2 separate regions of the Homo sapiens genome follow, and region 1 is linked to region 2. The links are contacts of gene promoters, found by promoter capture Hi-C in blood cells and fetal thymus (Javierre and others, 2016). All regions are on one chromosome and are shown on one strand. The core of a region is centred on a gene start or on the middle of the fragment in contact, and the rest is flanking DNA. Distances in the headings are between cores, read along the strand shown.

Region 1 (2,749 bases), core at 41-2,540, 660 kb after region 2:
TCTGTTTAAAGCACCCAGCCAAACGCTGGACACACCATGTATCTACTCATTTCTATATAAATATGCCATTATGCCACAAATGCCTCACATAAATGACATAAAGGAACGTTTGGCATAGGGGTGTACTGAGTGTTTTTGCGGGGAGGGGCAAACTGCACTCAGGGGCTCTAGGAACTTACCTTTTGGTAAGGCAGAAGGTAAATTGCAGAACCAGCATTTGAACCCAATGTTACTTAGAAGTTATTTCAACTCATCAGCAGAGACATTAATGAGATAGGTACATTCCTCCCTCCCCCATCTCACCCTGAGGTGGCCCTTGTAACCCACTCAGGAACAAGAGATCCAGGTAAATCCTAGTTCTCTCCTTTCTCTTCCCCTGTCTCTATACACTCACCCTATATATAAGTCATTTCTCTAACACCAGCAGCCCAGCCAGGGAGCTAGTAGGATCTCTGGGGCGCCATCGGGTCGAGCCGGTTTAGGACACAGTCCAGTAAGTTCAGCCCAGGCCGGGATAGGGCCCAGAGAAAGTCTCGGACTGGCCCCACGGCTCTCGGGAAGGCAGGGCCATCGGAAGTTATCGGGGCCCAAAGACTTCCTGGCTCGCCAGCCCCTTCCTTCCGGAGCCTGACCCGGGCCCGGGCGACCTCCCCGCGCGCTTCCCGGCCGCTGCCCAGGGGGTAGAGCGGGCGCAGCCGATCACTACCTGACGGCCTTTTTGGCGGCCTGGCCGGGCTGTGCAGGGTGGTAGGGCAAGACGCGCGGCTCCCAATTCTCCCCGGCGCCTTCGCCGGCCCCGGGCTTCTCGCGCTCCGCTCCGGGCTGCACCGAGTTGGGCCGGCGCGCCGCGTTGGTGTTGCCGCGCGGCGGCAGCTCAGAGTCTCCAGGTTGGGGCGGGCCTGGGCCGCACGGCTCCTCCACCCAGGTGACGCTGAGCAGGCTCAGGGTGAAGCCCAGGGAGATGCCCACGGCCACGGGCCCTGCGGGCCGCAGCACCGACAGCAGCAGCGATGCCCGCATGGCGCCCGGACCGCGGGTCCCCGGCCCCGGCGAACCCCCAGAGCAGCCAGAGGAGTCTCCGAGGGGGCGGGACCGGGGAGGGGGCGGATCCGGAGGGCTCGGGCCCCGCGGGCGGGCCCGCTCCCTCCCCGCAGAGCAGAGCCAGCGGCCCGAGCCGAATCCCCGGAGCCGCGCCTCGATTCCCCTCCAGCAGCTGCTCTGGGCTGCGCAGGGTTCTTGCGCTCGGCACTGGAGCCTCAGCCGCGGCCGCAGCTGTCCGACGTGTCACTGCAAGGGCCCCGCCCCCGGGGTGGGGTCTCGGGCTCTCGCTACCGGAGAGGGAGGAGAAGGGGGAGGTTAAAGGGGAAGGACCCCCGGAAGTGCCCCCTCCTCAGTGCGGGAGAGGGAGACGCCGGGGGCGGAGTCCCCTGCCTCCCGCGGCGTGGTTGGTGCGTCCCATGTGACGTCAGAAGCAGCCCGCCCCTGCCTGGATGGTGCGCCCTGAGTGACGTCAGGAGCAGAGGCCGGAGCTGTCCATCAGCACCAAAGGCCGCGGGCGGGCTCAGGGCATGGGGCCGCGGTTCTGGGGCGGCCCGAGCCCCGGCTCCTGCGCCTTCCCCTTCCTCAGGCCCAGCCCGAGTTCCCGGACGCCGCGGGACTGGAGTGCCAGCCGGTGTTGGACGTGGAGCGGCGCCGCCACCGCGCCGACACCATTCTCTCCGGCCCAGCAGCCCCCTTCCTCGCACGACGGACTTTCCCTGGACCCCAGTCAGTTGGAGCCTCTGGCGCCCCGCAACCCCGGCCCCTCGGGCCTCTGCACAGCCTCTTTCACTCAGAAGCTCAGGTCGCCTCCAGCCCAGGTAAATCTTGGACAATCCCATATTGAGCCGCCCACAGATGAATCTCTTGGCTGCCTCCTTCTCACTGGCAGCACGCTCCCTTCATCCCCCCGACTCCCGTCCCTCTTTTAACTTCATCCCAGCCTCCACTAGCCAGGCACTTTTGTTTCCCTTTGTCTTTGCTCCCCACTCCAGAGATGCTTCCGGAGCTGCACAAATGTGGATACTATTCCTTTGTCCACTGTCCTTGCTGAGTTCTCCCAATCCCTCTCCCACCCCCATCCTGGTGGGGACCCAGGACTCCTCCGTGACCCCAACTTTCCCTCTGTCAGGTTAACTTGGGAGGGTGACTCCCTTCTATTCCCAGCACTATGCCGGGGACTGTGGCAACACTGCGGTTCCAGCTGCTGCCCCCTGAGCCAGATGATGCCTTCTGGGGTGCACCTTGTGAACAGCCCCTGGAGCGCAGGTACCAGGCACTGCCGGCCCTCGTCTGCATCATGTGCTGTTTGTTTGGAGTCGTCTACTGCTTCTTCGGTGAGATCCCCATCTCATCCCTCACCTGGGCTCCCCAGTGTTTCCCCGAGTTCTTTTTCTGGGCCCCCAAGTCTTCTCTGAATCCCTCTACCATCATGAATAATTCTTCCTTTTCTTTCATCCCACACATTTATAGATTGTCTAGACTCTAGATTATAGGAAAAACAGGTTTTTGGATTAGGCACACCTGAGTGTGAATTTACTTAGCTTTGCAGTTACTAATTGTGATGTCTTGGGCACATTAATCTGTCTGAGCCTCAGTTTTCTCATCTGAACAATGATCACAATATTTGTCTCATGTAGTGTTGTAAGAATTAGTAAGCATTCAATAAATTGTAGCTATTGTGAGGATGTGTTTGGCTAACTGTGCTAGG
Region 2 (2,700 bases), core at 183-2,682:
GCACGATCCACTATCAGGGCCCAGGCTAGCACCAGAAACAGACGGCAGAGCTGCCTTTCCCCTGCCCTCTGGCTCTCAGGCCCTTGCTTGGGCCCAGCACACTTGCACTATATCGAGGAGGGGCCCAGTGTTCAGTTGGGGTGGAGGGACAGGAAGATCTCAGCGAGAAGTAGACCTGAGCCAGGAGGCTGGTATTAGGGACCTCCTAGAGGACCATGTGCAGGTGGGGCCAGGGAGGGCCAGGACAAGACTGAGAGTATCTGCGGGCACAGGCAGGCAACACTCAGTGTTGGGGAGGCAGCTGCTGCGCTGGGAGTCAGGAGAGCTGCGTTCGGTTCTCGCTCTTCCGCTAATTTGCTGTGTGACCTCTTTGAGCCTCGATATTTTCTTGTGAAATAAAGGGGAGCTAAATAAACTATCTCAACGGCCACTTCTAGGGTTAAAAGTCTCTCTAACGCCTCCTCCCAGGACGTGCCACCCCGGGCGCTCCTACGCAAGCATTTTCTGGGGGCCTGACACTGCTGCCTCCCCGGGCTCACTGAGGAGACAAGGTGGTCCCCATGAGCCGCATTCCGCAAAGGGGCAGAGGAGGTCTCCGTGAGCAGGAGCAGGAGGCACCTGTTTAAGGTCACACAGCAAAGGGGAGAAGAAACCAGAGGCTGCCAAACTCCTCTGCAGGAGCCCACACCTGCCTCACACCAGGCAGGCCTGGGGGAAGTCCCTCCTCTGGCGGAGGAGGCGAAACACAGAGGCCAGCCCCTCCCCTCCAGCCCCTGCAGGTGTGTGTGTTGGGGTGGGATGGGGGCGCTCCCCAGCAGCTGCGTCTCTGCCAGGCACACACACCTCGCGGTAACACATATCCCCCACACAACCCAGCGCGCTCCACACACAGGCATCTTCCTGTGCACGCGCGCACAGACCCCAACACCTTTCCCTCTGTTGCCCTCAGCAGGGACGCTCCCACCCCCAGTCCCCAGCGGACGCAGTGGCCTCGGGACTCGTACACGCCTCCACGCCCCGCCGCGTGACGTCACGTGGGGTAGAGCCCTGAGACACTAAATGGCGGGGGGGTGGGGGGAGGAAAGGGAAGGCGGCAGAGCTCCCCGAGCCGGGACAGTCACTTACTCTACAGGCAGTGGGGCCCGACACAGACAGCGCCGCCCCCGCCAGCCAGCCTCGCACGCCCTCGGAAGCGCAGGCTCCCGGCGCTGCGCTGGAGGGTTCCCCGGCACCCCAGCCTCCCGTCCCCAGCCCGCTGCACCTCCGGGCCCCCCTTACCCTTGAGAGGCACCGGGAGTTGTCGCGGGGGGGCCTCGGGAAATTCCCCGGACCCCTGTGCCAGGAGGTGCCCGGTTCGCCCGCTCTTCACCCCCCGCCCCCCCCGAGGGCGGTGCCCGGGGGTGCTGCCCCATGGAGCGGGGAGGCGGGCGCCGTCTGCTCCGGGAGCCCTGACCCGAGTCGGAGCTGTGTGTCGCAGCCGCCCCGACCCCCCGCCGATCATGCGCCGGCGCCCCTGGCTCTCCAGTCCCACTGGGCTGTGAGCCCCCCACTCCCAGCCCGTCAGGGCCTGCGCGCCATGGGCAGCGCCCACCCTCGCCCCTGGCTGCGGCTCCGACCCCAGCCCCAGCCGCGGCCAGCGCTCTGGGTGCTCCTGTTCTTCCTACTGCTGCTGGCTGCTGCCATGCCCAGGTGAGCCCTCACCTCATGCTCCGCCCTCCTAGAGAGTTGGGACCCCGGCCTGCAGGGGCCTCTGATGCTCTTGCTGGGGTAGAGGACCCTGGAAGAAGGGAGGGACAGGGTCATAGGAAAGTGCTGGTGCCCAACCAAAGGCAGTGAGCTCCCTCATAGGAGGGGGTTGGACTGGTGACAGGATATGGGCAGTCCAGGGAGACAAGGCAGTGCCCAGGAGCATGATGGCAACTAGGAGGGGAGGTGTGTGTGGGGGGGGAGCAAGTGCCAGTCTGGAGTTCCTGCCCTGTTGGGGGAATGCACCCCCACCTCAGGAGTAAGCACAAGCTGCCTCACTCCTTCCTGCAGCTCAGCCCCAGGTAGGGGCAGGGGTTGGGAGGCTGGAAGGGGGTAGCCCAGGTGGGGTCAGTGAGAGACTGCAGCTGCAAGAGCTGTGTGTGTGTGTGTGTGTGTGTGTGTGTTTTCAATCGAGCCCAGGATCCCAGCAAACTGTGTTGGTAAACAGTAGTTTGTATGTGTGCCCATGTGTGCATGTGAGAGCTCATGGGTCAATGTATGTTAAGATGAACACATGTGTAAATGGGAGTGTCTTTGTGTGTGTGTCTGTAACTATGTCTGATGAAGTGTGCATGTGCGTAAGTGTGCTGGGGTTGGGTTTGTGTGTCCACCACAATGTGTGCAGAAGTGTGTCTATGTGAATGTGACTGAAACATATCTGTGGGAGTGGGCTTGTGGGGAACCCTGTGTGTATGGGCATCTATTCCTGGGGATGTGCATAGGAAATACTGTGGCCACAAGCATGGTGGATGTGTGTGCATTTGCACGCTTACCTGTGTGGGTGTGCAGCTAGCTGAGTGAGTTGCACTGGGCAGGATGATTGTGAGGAGGTCAAGGAGAGAGGAATGTGTAGGAGTGTACTGATGGGCCCAACCTTCAGAAGCAGAGGTTGGAAGAGGGAGTGATTATGGCCGTTGGGACAGAGTGTGTGTTGTTAGATGGGGCTCTCCTGGT

Evidence for each region. Contacts are between HindIII fragments. The CHiCAGO score rates a contact against its expected background, and 5 or more counts as called.
Region 1: the fragment with the promoter of CHPF here is called in contact with the fragment with the promoter of WNT10A in region 2 in 1 of 17 cell types (total B cells); the score reaches 5.1 in total B cells.

Annotation. Positions count from the first base shown.
Region 1 is chr2:219,542,519-219,545,267 of GRCh38, forward strand. CHPF (chondroitin polymerizing factor) reads right to left here and starts at 1,291. Exons shown (of 4, transcript NM_024536.6): 1 at 707-1,291. The coding sequence starts at 1,020. It overlaps TMEM198 (transmembrane protein 198), which reads left to right and starts at 1,510. Exons shown (of 5, transcript NM_001005209.3): 1 at 1,510-1,859; 2 at 2,171-2,375. The coding sequence starts at 2,210. RefSeq lists silencers at 723-812, 823-1,532, 1,573-1,712. The HindIII fragment of the contact is 11,388 bases long and covers 1-2,749 here.
Region 2 is chr2:218,879,420-218,882,119 of GRCh38, forward strand. It overlaps WNT10A (Wnt family member 10A), which reads left to right and starts at 1,433. Exons shown (of 4, transcript NM_025216.3): 1 at 1,433-1,689. The coding sequence starts at 1,577. RefSeq lists silencers at 859-918, 1,139-1,348, 1,369-1,508. The HindIII fragment of the contact is 9,483 bases long and covers 1-2,700 here.